2 separate regions of the Homo sapiens genome follow, and region 2 is linked to region 1. The links are contacts of gene promoters, found by promoter capture Hi-C in human tissues and cell types (Jung and others, 2019). All regions are on one chromosome and are shown on one strand. Each heading gives the region's core, a stretch centred on a gene start or on the middle of the fragment in contact. The rest is flanking DNA. Distances are from core to core; before and after follow the strand shown.

Region 1 (6,105 bases), core at 1,540-4,039:
TATTATGTTTACCCACTTTCTCTAAAGTAGGTATTTCAGAAGAGATCAGTTAATTTCTAACTGTAGCATAGGTTATGGTCATGTAGTATCTTTTAAAATTTGAGTAAGGGCATGCTTTGAGCAAGTAAGTTTAAGTTGACTTTCTTCTGGAAATAAAAGTAAGAGGTGTCTCTAAATTATTTATTGAACAGTATTCCTAATTACTACATTTTCCTGGCTTAACTTGGCTGCTGAAGAAATTGAGGCCCAGCACAATGGCCCATGTCTATAATCCCAGCACTTTGGGAGGCCAAGGCAAGAGGATGGCTTGAGCACAGGCATTTGAGACCAGCCTAGGGAACATAGGGAGATCCTGTCTCTACAAAAATATAAAAAAAGCTGGGTGTGGTGGCACTCACCTGTGGTCCCAGCTACTTGGGAGGCTGAGGTGGGAGGTTCACTTGAGTCTGGGAGGTCAAGGCTGCAGTGAGCTGTGATCATGCCTGGACAACAGAGTGAGACCCTGTCTTTTTTAAAAGAAAAAAAAATGAAAATCTGATTTTTCATTTGCATTTCTCTCTGACAGATTCTACCAGAAATGAATCCCAGACTATAAAACCTGTGGTGTCATTTCGAACATTAAAACCACCCCCTCCCACGCTTCTATAGTTGAACCCATAGTACACATTCCAATAAGGGCCACTCTTGTTCTGTTTCCCTTATGTCCAGAACTGTCCAGCTGGCCAGTGAGGGAACTGCTTTCCTTAGGGAAGAAACTTCTCTCATTCATAACAAGAAGAAAATTCATCAGTGCTTGATGTGAAATTAGTTTTAAGCTAAGATAATAGAAATGTAATATTCTCAGTTTTTTTGGAGTGGTTAGAATTTATTTTTTCTTAACCTAAACTCAAAGTTGAGTTCTCAGTGTCAAGTATGTGGAGCAGAAATTAAGTAACAACCTTAGAGAACCTAATATAGATAGTACTGCCTTCTCAGATACTCACTAGAGTAGATAATGTTTGCCTTTTAAATCTTTTTAGTTATTCACACAATCATTATCACAACACTGTCACTCTTGGAATTTACCATAGAGTATTTGAGCAGTGAAGACTCATAGCATTTGGAAGTCATTTAGAAAAGAATCTGGAATATTTAGATGCATTTTTGTAGTAAATCTGGTGCTTAAACACTGTAAAATTAAATATTTACATCTGAATCCAGCATCCCATTTTGCTTTGTAAATGAGGCCAAAGATGAAATCCAGATGTTTTCCCTTGTATTTGTATTATCACTATATGGAATCTAAGTATATCTAAGAAAAACTAAACTTAAACTTACTTTGCTTATTTCATATTAGTTTTTATCTGTCTTCTGCAGTGTGTAATTAGATTCTTTAGTTTTCTGAATCAAATGCTTTGCCCCAACCCCTTTTTCCACGACTTTTTTCAGCTGTTTTCCCTTGAAATACTGACTTGGCTTTTAAAGATACATTTTATCACAATTGCAGAAATGTGTTGTATAAAAGTTTGTTAAACAGGGCTAACTGAAGTCTTAGATGTTGAACAGCTATGTGTAACCACAATTTATACTACTTGCAGCGAACTCAGATTATTTTCGGATGTTAAGTATGGCTTGAAACTATGTTAACTTGAAATGTAAAGAAACAGCAAAAGACAGGTGTATTTACCTAAAGATCACATATTAAGGAAACAGGCTTGGTTAATTCCTCACTATTGACATCTATTACTTGTCAATACATTTAACCAACCAATGATACTTTAAATCATAATGTTACTTTGAACAACCTACTTTAAAAGGTTGGTTCAAAAATGTTGAGGAGATAATGTATTGGTTGGGATTGACCTAAATTTACAAAGCAACCATGTGCTGTCTTATGCTACCCAGATTGTGGGAGCACCAAAAGCTATGTCCCTAGGACTACAAAGTGTGTTGTTTAAGGATCTTGCAGAGAGCCAATGCCCCTATTGGCAACATCACTTCTCATCCTTAAGTTTCACCAGTTGGGTGGCCTCAAGGCACTAGGATTCCCATTTTTTTTTTTATTCAGGTCAGAGAAGAGTCCATCACTGTGACTGGGAAGAATGTCAAGTCACAGGGTAACGGCGGACCTTAATAAAATCTCGGCCCCTCTGCACCGAATACCCCACCAGGAAGGGCTAAGGCATCCATGGGGTTGTGTCTCATCTCAAGTCGCTGTGTGAAGCACGAGGCCCTCACACCTCATTTAAGGCAGGAGGCGTCAGGGGCGACCGGCCAGGTGTCCCGGCGCCTTCCCGCCGCTTCTCAGCCGTGGAAGCGCGGGCATCTGAGCACGTGGAGCCGCCCCAGGCCGCCCCGCACACCCCTCCCGCCAGATGTAGTCCAGGCCCAGCTGGGCCCGCGCAGGGATCCCCAGCACGGCCACCTGACTGAGTGCTGGGCGTGCTGCGGCCCGCTGCTTCTGCCTCCGCCGCCGGCGCTGCGGCCAGAGGAAGGCGCCCGCCGAGCACACGGGCCCCGGGAGCGCACTGCGGCCATTATCCGCGGCGCCTCCTAGTGGGTCAATGGCAAATCCGCCTGGTTCTCGCGAGAGCTCCCCCCTCAGTGGGGATTATATAATTTCCCTCAAGCGGGGGTGGGGGTGCTGAGAGCACCCTCCCTCAGGAAAAGTTAGGTGCAAGCAGGGGTGGGAGTAAGAGGAACCCCCCCTGGGGAAAAGGGGGTTAGGGGTGCTGTCCCCACTGCCCCCCCCTATTTAGCTGGACAATGAGTCCTCTTATGCTAATGAGGCACTTACGTCACTTCCGCTCTTTCTCGGCCGCCATTTTGGCTAGGGCAGGTTCGGGGACTCGGTCCGAGGCGCTTGTATTGTCTGCTGAGGGGAGACGCGGGATCAGCCCCCTCCCCCGCCCGTTGCCGCCGCCGCCTCCGCCGGCCCGGTCTCCCCTCCGCCGCCCGCCGGGATCCATGAGCTGAACTCCCGCCCCCCCCCCCCCGGCCGCCGCCATCTTGTGCCCCCTCCCCCTCCCGCAGGCAGCGCTAAGGGGGATTTTGGCGTCTTCTCAGACACAGCTCCCTCTCTCGGTCCCCGCTGCTGAGGAGCGAGAGGAGCGCGGCCGCCGCCGCCCGCGCCGGTGAAGCCGCCTCTCCCACACCCTCCGTCTCCTCCCTCCGCCCCTCCTTTGTCTGCACCGCTCGACGACGCCGCCGCCGCCCGCCGCTCTGCTGCGCCCGCCGCGCCCCCCGGCAGCACCCGCGGCCGCGGCGCGAGCCGGAGTCCGCCGAGCCGGAGCGCGACGAGGCCCCGGGCGCGCCCTCCCCGCTGCCGCCACCGCCGTGCCGCCGCCATCCGCCCGCCGCCGCCGCCGCTGTCCGGCCCCCGAGCACGCCGGCCCCGCGCGCGCCTCGAGGCCGAGTCAAGGTAAGCCCGGCGCCGCCGCGCGCGGACCCGCGGCCCTGCCCTGCCTGGCTTCCCGACCCCGGCCCGCGCGGCCGCCAGTGCAGCCTGGCCCCGGGCGCGGGCGCATTGTTGTTCGCATCGCCGCCCTCCAGCCGCACACACGCTCCTTTGCACACCCCGGCGCCGACGGGTCCCCCGTCCCGGCACGGACCGCTACCCGACTCTGCTCCGGAGGTCCAGGCGCCTCCTCCTGCAGCCCGACCCCCTTCTCCGCCCTGTGAGCCCACCGAGGCCAGCACTCTGCCTGGCCGCCCGGAGCTTTTGCAGCTAAGGGCATCTCCCCCAGCCAGAACCGAGCTTCTCCCATCCTGGAACTAATCCCGTCCGCCCCCCACCCCCAAAAGGAGCCCCCCCACGCACACCCCCATGCCTTGAACCAGCCTTCTGCCAGGTCTGCCCACCCTTACCTGGGGGAGGGGGGACGGGGTTGGGGGGGGCGGGGAGCATGCATGGCATGGAGTGAGTCTTTGCCTCCCCTGTGCAATCCTTCTTCCCCAACCTGCCAGCTTTCCTCTTATCCTGACCACAGTTCACCACCATCCCTTTTCCCCAATCTCAGCTGCCTGGTCAGCACCTCTTTCGAACATTCTGAGCCCCAACTTTGCAGTAAGGTGGTAGAAAATGGAAATCCAGAGAGCTGCAAAAAGATTTTTTTTTAATGTAATGAATGGGGAGTAGTTTTGTGAACACACTCGTATTCACCTCTTCTTTCCTCTGGGAGGCCTGCCTGCCTTCCCCTCCCCCCCAACCTTGATCCCTGTCTGCTGGAAAAGGCGCGATTGCTTCTCTTCCTCTTCTGCCCAAGACCAAGACTCTAGGTCTGATATCCTTTTTAGCCACACACACACACCCCCCACACACGAAGTCTTCTTAATCTTCTTGAATTTACCAGTTACTCTGGACACTTCTTGCCATAACCCCATTTCACAGACAAAGGCTTAGGAGGGAAAAAGAACCAAACTGTTTCTGTGTTTGTCATGTTAATGATGTCCATCCCCACACACCCAGTTCCCATCCCTGATGCTTCTTGTGCCTGTATCTTGAACCTTCAGAATGAAAAAAAAAAAAATCTCTTGGATAGCTTGATACAGTTTCTTTAGAAATCTGCATTGTTGCTTCTGGTTTATGGCCATGGAGAAAATACCAGCCCCCACCCAAAATGCACCGCAGCCAAGTCGGCTAAAGGCGATGAGTGTTGGAGTCAGTAGGGGGCGCATTCTCTGCACTGGGTAAGGCTGCAGAGGGGGGAAGGGCCCCCGAGCTAGAACAGGATGTGCTTCACAGCGCCTTCTACAGACCATGGGAAAATGGGCCCAGCAAGACACACTCGCACTCTTAGTTGGTGAGCTGACAGCAACATGGCGAAGGATTAAGTGAGTCAAGAGCAGTGATTTTACTTCTTTTAAAGAGCCCACCCTGCATTTTAGAAGTTTTCTCCTTTTACTTTTTCAAAACTGTTGGCCCCCAGTCCATATTTGTTCTTGACGAATCACCTTGGCACATCCTTGGTTCGGATTCCCTTCCTCTGGAGTTCTTCCACCTCAAGTTTTGAATGTGTCACCATATCTTTCCTAAGTCTGGTGGTAAAGGAGAAGGTTTGAAACAAAGTAACAGGTTTGGGGGCATAGCTGGTTAACTCCCTTCTTCATAGGCCAAATCTTTCCAATTCTTTGAGAGTTAAAAATCATTCTTGAGAGATGTTGGATTAAGTGTGTAGATGGGTGTCATGATTTGCAAAGCCTTGTTGGTAAACATCAAGCCCATGTTGGGTTCTTCATTGTCGAACTCAAGTGTTGATTGTAAAAATTTCGTTTCCCTCCAAATTTGGACTTGTAATTGCCATTCATTATCTCAGCAGCCAACCACCTTTACAAAAATGTTGATACCAGTCTTCTGTGAGCACCCACCTTCTTAGGGTGTGTTGATTTCCATAGATTTTACTCCTCTTGTTATTTCCATAGGTGTGAGATGCACAATGCGAAACCTAGGCCCCAGCTTTTACACCATGATGCGCAGGGTTGTACTTTTTGTACTGAACTGATAGGTGGCCTAGTGGTTATGCCCTGTACTACCATTTTGAGGATCTGGACTCCGTTTCCTGCCTTGCTCTTTGGACCACATTGTCAATTCACACCGGTGGGTATATTCATTTTGGAGGGTGGGAACTGCAGCAACAGGGAAGCCAGAGACTTCCTTCTCCTTGGTCACCACCAAAACCAACACTTCCAAAATTTCAGCCTAGCCACATTCCTCAAGGAACCGGTTAGAGCTGGTTGCAGTAGTGGGTTCTGAACACTTATTAACATAAGAAATTACTTACAGCTTTTTTAAGAGAAATTTTTACAGATGCTAATATTGTAATCATTTGCATTCTACACCCCTTTGTATAAAGTATAAGTATTCAGTTACTATTACTTTGATAACCCAATCTCTAGAGTTGCTAAGCTTCTAAAAGCCTTAAATGTCTGATGAAAACATGGTTTTCCATGAACTTGTTCTTGCTACCAAAGATTGACAGTGGTTGATGTTTGTGGGTACCTTTAAGACTTTGTATGTTACATAAATACACCAAGATAAGTTTATGGAGAACTGAATGGGTGTATTCTTTGATACCTAGTTAACCAGTTGGTGCTTAACAGGAGAATTTTTCATTGGAGAATTGCTAC
Region 2 (6,105 bases), core at 1,532-4,031, 1.2 Mb before region 1:
GGTTGGACTCGGACTCTTGGGCTCCAGAGATGCTCCCACCTCAGTCTGGGTCATAGTTGGGACTTTAACGGCAGCCGCCAATACGCCTGGCTGCAGGATTCAATTTCAGAGCAAGAGACTCGATTGGCCCAGTTGCTGTCAGGTGTCTTCCACTGCACCAATCAGCAAAGGCAGAGCTGGGGCGTGGTCAGGGCTTCCAACAGGGCAGCGCCACTCACCCCTGGGGAGGGACATTTGGGCCGGTCTAACGCCCACTGTGGACGGTAAAGGCCGTTTGGGAACAGCGTAAGTGAAAGGGGTGGATTTTCTCTTTTCTCTCAGAAAATGAATTATTTTGGGGGCGGGGGCGGCAGCGGGGGTGCGGGGGGAAGGGAACGGAGTCTCACTCTGCCACCCAGGCTGGAGTGTAGTGCGATCTCGGCTCACTGCAACCTCTGCCTCCTGGGTTCAAGCGATTCTCCTGCCTCAGCCTCCCACGTGCCTGGGATTCCAGGCGCCCACCACCACGTCCGGCTAATTTTTGTATTGTAGCAGAGACAGGGTTTCACCATGTTGGCCAGGCTGGTCTCAAACTCCTGGCCTCAAGGGATCCGACCGCCTCGGGCTCCCACAGTGCTGGGATTACAGGCGTGAGCCGCCATGCCCGGCCTCAGACAGTGAATTCTGAGTTTACAGTTGGGATACTTGCCTGGAGATCAAGAACCCTAAATGAGAATCCTAAGCATGAACGACACTGCAAAAAACAACATACACAAAAAAATCAAGAGACCTGAATATATGATAATATCCTGCTGGGCGCGGTGGCGCTTGCCTGGACTCCCAGCACTTTGGGAGGCCAAGGAGGGAGGATCGCTTGAGTCTGGGAGTTCAAGACCAGGCTGGCCAACATGGCGAAACCCCGTCTCTACAAAAAATACAAAAATTAGCTGGGCGTGGTGGCGCATACCTGTTATCCCAGCTACTCAGGAAGCTTAGGCAGGAGAATCACTTGAACCTGGGAGGCAGATATTGCAGTGAGCCGAGATGGTGCCACTGCCCTCCAGCCTGGGAGATAGAGCCAGACCCTGTCTCAAAAACAAAACAAAACAAAACAAAAGATAGTATCCTTAATCTGCAAAAAGCATTTACAAATCAAGAAAAAAATTAAAATTCCAATAGAAAAAATGAGCTAATAGAATAAACAGGAAGTTCACCAAATAAGGCATGTCATTGGAAAAATAAATGTTGAAAGGGAGTTTAATCTCACTAATTACATGTAAAGGAAATGCAAGTTAAACTCAAGTGATCTCATTTTGTCCTCTCAAGTCGTCTCTGTGACAGCCAAGGTTAAGGGGAAAATGCAAATAATTTCAGTTTTCTGAAAGGATGTTATAATTATATAATCACCAAGTAATAAAACATCTGTACCATTTTAACCCAAGTCTTCAATTTCAAGGAATGTACCCAAAGAAATGAGGGATAAATTTAAACTTCTGGACAGGTTTTACTCATAAAAGTCAATTCCTAGATGTCTCCTCCATGTCCAAGAAAGGGAAATGGTTAAACTATTCAGCAACCAAAATGATGAAATATTATGTGGCCATTAGAGGTTGTGTTTTCGATGAATGACAACATGATAAGATGTTTTAACATGGCAAAAGTGTTTCATTAAAAATATATATTAAATGATTTAAGCCATGATCCTAGTTTTATACTTTTAAAATATACTTTTTTTTTTTTTTTTTTTTTTGAGATGGAGCCTCACTCTGTTGCCCAGGCTGGAGCGCAATGACGCGATCTTGGCCCACTGCAACCTCCGCCTCCCGGGTTCAAGCAATTCTGCCTCAGCCTCCCGAGTAGCTGGGATTACAGGTACCCACCACCACACCCAGCTAATTTTTGTATTTTTAGTAGAGACAAAGTTTTGCCATGTTGGCCAGGCTGGTCTCGAACTCCCGACCTCAGGTGATCCGCCTGCCTCAGCCACCAAAAGTGTTGGGATTACAGGCGTGAGCCACCGCTCCCGGCCCTAAAATATATTTTCTATATATAAAAGAGGTTAGCCCTTTAGCTGATCATTAATTAAACAAATGTTCTTTGAGCTCCTCCCCTTCACCTGGTTCTGTGGTGGGTGCAGGGGGAACAGTAATGGAAAGAAACAAGGGTCTGTCCTCACTTAACTCCTCCAACCAAATAGAAGAGAGAATAGTCATTTAATAATTTCTCAAATAAGTATTTAATCACAGTAGCGATAGGAGCTTTGTATAAAAAGTAAGGATGTAGGCTGGGCACCGGTGGCTCACATCTGTAATCCCAGCACTTTTGGAGATCAAGGCAGGGAGATTACTTGAGGTCGGGAGTTCAAGATGAGCCTGACCAACATGGTGAAACCCCCATCTCTGCTAAAAATACAAAAATTAGCCAGGCATGGTGGCGCACACCTTTAGTCCCAGCCACTCAGGAGGCTGAGGCAGGAGAATCACTTGAACCTGGGTAGCGGAGGTTGCTGTGAGCCAAGACTGCACCACTGCACTTCAGCCTGGCAACAGAGCCAGACTCCGTCTCAAAAAAAAAGAAAAAAAAAAAAGCAAGGATGTATATTGCCATGTTTTGACAGCATTGGGAAGTTTTTTGTTTTGTTTTTCTAGAGACGGTCTTGCTCTGTCACCCAGGCTGAAGTGCAGTGGTGCAATCATAGCTCACTGCAGCCTGGAACTCCTGAGCTTAAGCCATCCTTCCACCTCAGCCCCACAATTAGCTGAAACTACAGGCACACAGCATCACACCCAGCTATTTTTTGTATGGTTTTGTGGAGACGGCGTCTCCCTGTGTTGCTCAGGCTGGTCTCAAACTCCTGGTCTCAAGTGATCATCCTGCCTCAGCCTCCCAAATTGCTGGGATTACAGGCATGAGCCACTACACTTAGCCTAGTTTTTTCTTCTCTCAACTTTTCTGTGTAGAGAAGAAAATCCTAAAATTCATGTTAACTTTTATTTTGCAAAAATAAACATTGTCATTTAAAAAGAGAAAAGGATTTGTTAAATGGAATTTTTAAGTTGAAGAAGGGAAGGGGGAAGCAAATTAGATAGGGAGATATCAAAGCTGTCTTGAGATGTCTGAAAGGCAATTTGGTAGAAAAGGAGCTATGGTTGGTTCATGTGAGCCCTAAGACTCCACAGAGACAAACTTCAGAGAAATAGATGTGGATTATCTATTTCATGAAATTCATATAACAGTCATACATTTTAAACAACATCATGATCAAATAACTGAATATGCCCCTGCTACAAACCAGAACTAAATACAATAAGCAATTCTCAGATGCACACCTGAACATGCAGGAAAGAAGGGAAATCCCCTGGAGCCAGAAAACAAACCTGAAAGCTGCAGCAGGTGTGTGAGGCTGTGAGCTTCTTGGGGTATCGGGGACAGGGTCTGATCTCACTAAACAGGAGGCTTGATTTTAATGGCCACACCAGGGTAGAGGCTGAAGCCCTGAGCTCTTGCAAAAAGTTAGACATAAGACCCCCACATAAAGAGGTGGCCCGTGCTGCATTCTCGGTGAAAAGAGGGACTAGAGAATATTCTTGGGGCGTGGGCAAGTCACGCCTCTACTGGAAGCACTTCCCCCCAAGGTTATGAGTCATCCCGCCTCAGCAGATGTGGGGCGTTTCACCTTCTTCTAGGGTGCTCTGAGATTCCCCAAGGCCCATGCCACTCATTATGCCAAACCTGAATACAGATAAATAATAACCTATTATGCATAGTTACCGTAATGTCCACTGAGAATTCTCAAGAACTTGCAGTGTGCCCGACTTGCAGTATGCCTTATCCTTCCCTTGAATCTTTACTAGAACAACAAGATCTAAGCTCTGAGATCACTGCAATATCCCCATTTTACCGACAAAAGAACTGAAGAGCAGAGAAGTGACTTGGTCAAGGCCCTATAGCTAGTGAGAGGAGACAGAGGTTGGCCCAGGGTCAATCTGACTGTACACACACACACACACAAACACACACACACACACCAACACACACACACACACCCCTGGCAATGAGTGGTGACTGCAGCATCAAATCACATGCACACACCCAGGTTGGTCCAAGGTCCACTACACACACACACATACACTCACCTGGGGATGAGTGGCTACTCTGGCATCAAATTGCATACAAACACCCAGTTGGTCGGGCGCGGTGGCTCACGCCTGTAATCCCAACACTTTGGGAGGCCGAGGCGGGCACATCACCTGAGGCAGGAGTGTGAGACCAGCCTGGCCAACATGGTGCAATTCTATCTCTACTAAAAATACAAAAACTAGCTGGGCACTGTGGCAGGCACCTGTAGTCCCAGCTACTCAGGAGGTTGAGGCGGGAGAATCGCTTGAACCCAGGAGGCAGAGATTGCAATGAGCCGAGATCACGCCATTGCACTCCAGCCTGGGTGACAGAGCGAGACTGCATCTCAAAAAAAAAAAAATTGGGGAGGCCGAGGCAGGCAGATCACCTTAGGTCAGAAGTTTGAGAACAGCCTGGCCAACATGGTGAAACTCTGTCTCTACTAAAAATACAAAAATTAGCCAGGTGTGGTGGTGTGTGCCTGTAATCCCAGCCACTAGGGAGGCTGAAGCAGGAGAATCACTTGAACCCGGGAGGCGGAGGTTGCAGTGAGCCAAGATGGCGCCGTTGCACTCCAGCCTGGGCAACAGAGCGAGACTCCATCTAAAAAAAAAATGAAATAAAACACCCAAATTGGTCCAAGGTCAGTCTGACCATGCATGCTCACACATACGCACACACAGACACATACACATACACATACGCATACACATACGCATACGCATACACAGACACATACACATACACATACACATATGCACACACACCCCCTGGGGATGAGTGGCGACTCCGGCATCAAATCACATGCAAACAACCAAAGGGGATGAGGAGGCCTCTGGTTGCCAGCAGTCCCTCAGTGATTACCATAAGCCTTTCCCTGGGGTGTCTCTGCAGGTCCTGCTGTTCACAGCAGATTCTAGAAAGGCCACGTGTGTGGGAAGGGATACCCTTGATAAATCCAGCTAGGAGGCGCCAGCAAGCCGACCATCTGGATGAGAGTCTTCAGCACCCAATGCCCCTTTGTTGCTATTGAATTCTGGACACCTGCAACAGAATACTATTAATATAATAATTATATGCTTCCATGTTTTATATTCAAATGTTACCTTCTCACTGAGGCCTTCCTGGACCTACTTAAAATTGCATGCCCACCAGCATTTCCTGGTTCCCTTCCCTGCTTTATTTTTCTCTGTAATATTTACACCACTTGATTTGCACACTATATATTTAAATACTTATTGCATGCACCACTCCTAACTAGAGTGTCAGCTCCATGAGGGCAGGGATTTTTGTCTCTGAGTCACTGCTCTGTTTCTAGTGCTTAGAACAGTTCCTGGCACACAGTCAGTACAGTACCTAATAAATATTTGCTGAATAAATTAGTGAATAAAGTCAACAGCAACAGCAGCTTTACATGCCTGGTTTCTGATCCTCACAGCAGCCCTAGGAGATAGGAATGGAAATTGTCCACATTCTCCAGGTAAAGAAACTGAGGACCAAGGAGGTAAGACACAGCCTAAGCTCTGGAGCAAACCCTTTCTGGTCTATAGCCATCTACTTTGGGATGACTCGCAGGTTACATGGGATTAGCCCTGCCCCAAAATGATCCCTGCACCTGGGTGCCTGAATCCCTTTGCTGTTGGGTTTTGTTTTTTTTTCCTTGAGATGGAGTCTCCCTCTGTCACCCAGACTGGAGTGTAGTGGCATGATCTCAGCTCACTGCAACCTCTGTCTCCTGGGTCCAAGCGATTCTCCTGCCTCAGCCTCCTGAGTAGCTGGGACTACAGGTGCGCACCACCACGCCTGGCTAATTTTTGTGTTTTTAGTAGAGACAGGGTCTCACCATGTTGGCCAGGCTGGTCTCAAACTCCTGACCTCAAATGATCCGCCCACCTCAGGCTCCCAAAGTGCTGGGATTACAGGCATGAGCCACCACGCCCGGCCCTTTGCTGTGTTTAACCTGCCCACTCATGATGCTTCCTGCTGCCTCTCCAAGACACCAAAGCA

The links. The method cuts DNA at HindIII sites, captures the fragments that hold promoters and counts their contacts. A contact is called where the count stands out against the background at its distance.
Region 2: a contact is called between a fragment that was not itself captured here and the fragment with the promoter of ADNP in region 1, in 1 of the 25 tissues and cell types used here (lymphoblastoid cells).

What each region holds. Positions count from the first base shown.
Region 1 is chr20:50,928,121-50,934,225 of GRCh38, reverse strand. ADNP (activity dependent neuroprotector homeobox) reads left to right here and starts at 2,789. Exons shown (of 6, transcript NM_001282531.3): 1 at 2,789-3,400; 2 at 5,401-5,575. It overlaps ADNP-AS1 (ADNP antisense RNA 1), which reads right to left and starts at 3,242. Exons shown (of 3, transcript NR_110009.1): 1 at 3,172-3,242; 2 at 2,777-2,851. RefSeq lists silencers at 2,301-2,480, 2,344-2,531, 2,831-3,050, 3,201-3,250, 3,391-3,570 and 2 more and enhancers at 2,631-2,750, 3,170-3,960. The HindIII fragment of the contact is 17,322 bases long and covers 1-6,105 here.
Region 2 is chr20:52,170,107-52,176,211 of GRCh38, reverse strand. The region is part of intron 2 of ZFP64 (ZFP64 zinc finger protein); the gene reads left to right. Among named protein-coding and RNA genes, the nearest start is that of ZFP64, 19 kb to the left of the region's middle. The HindIII fragment of the contact is 6,575 bases long and covers 1-6,068 here.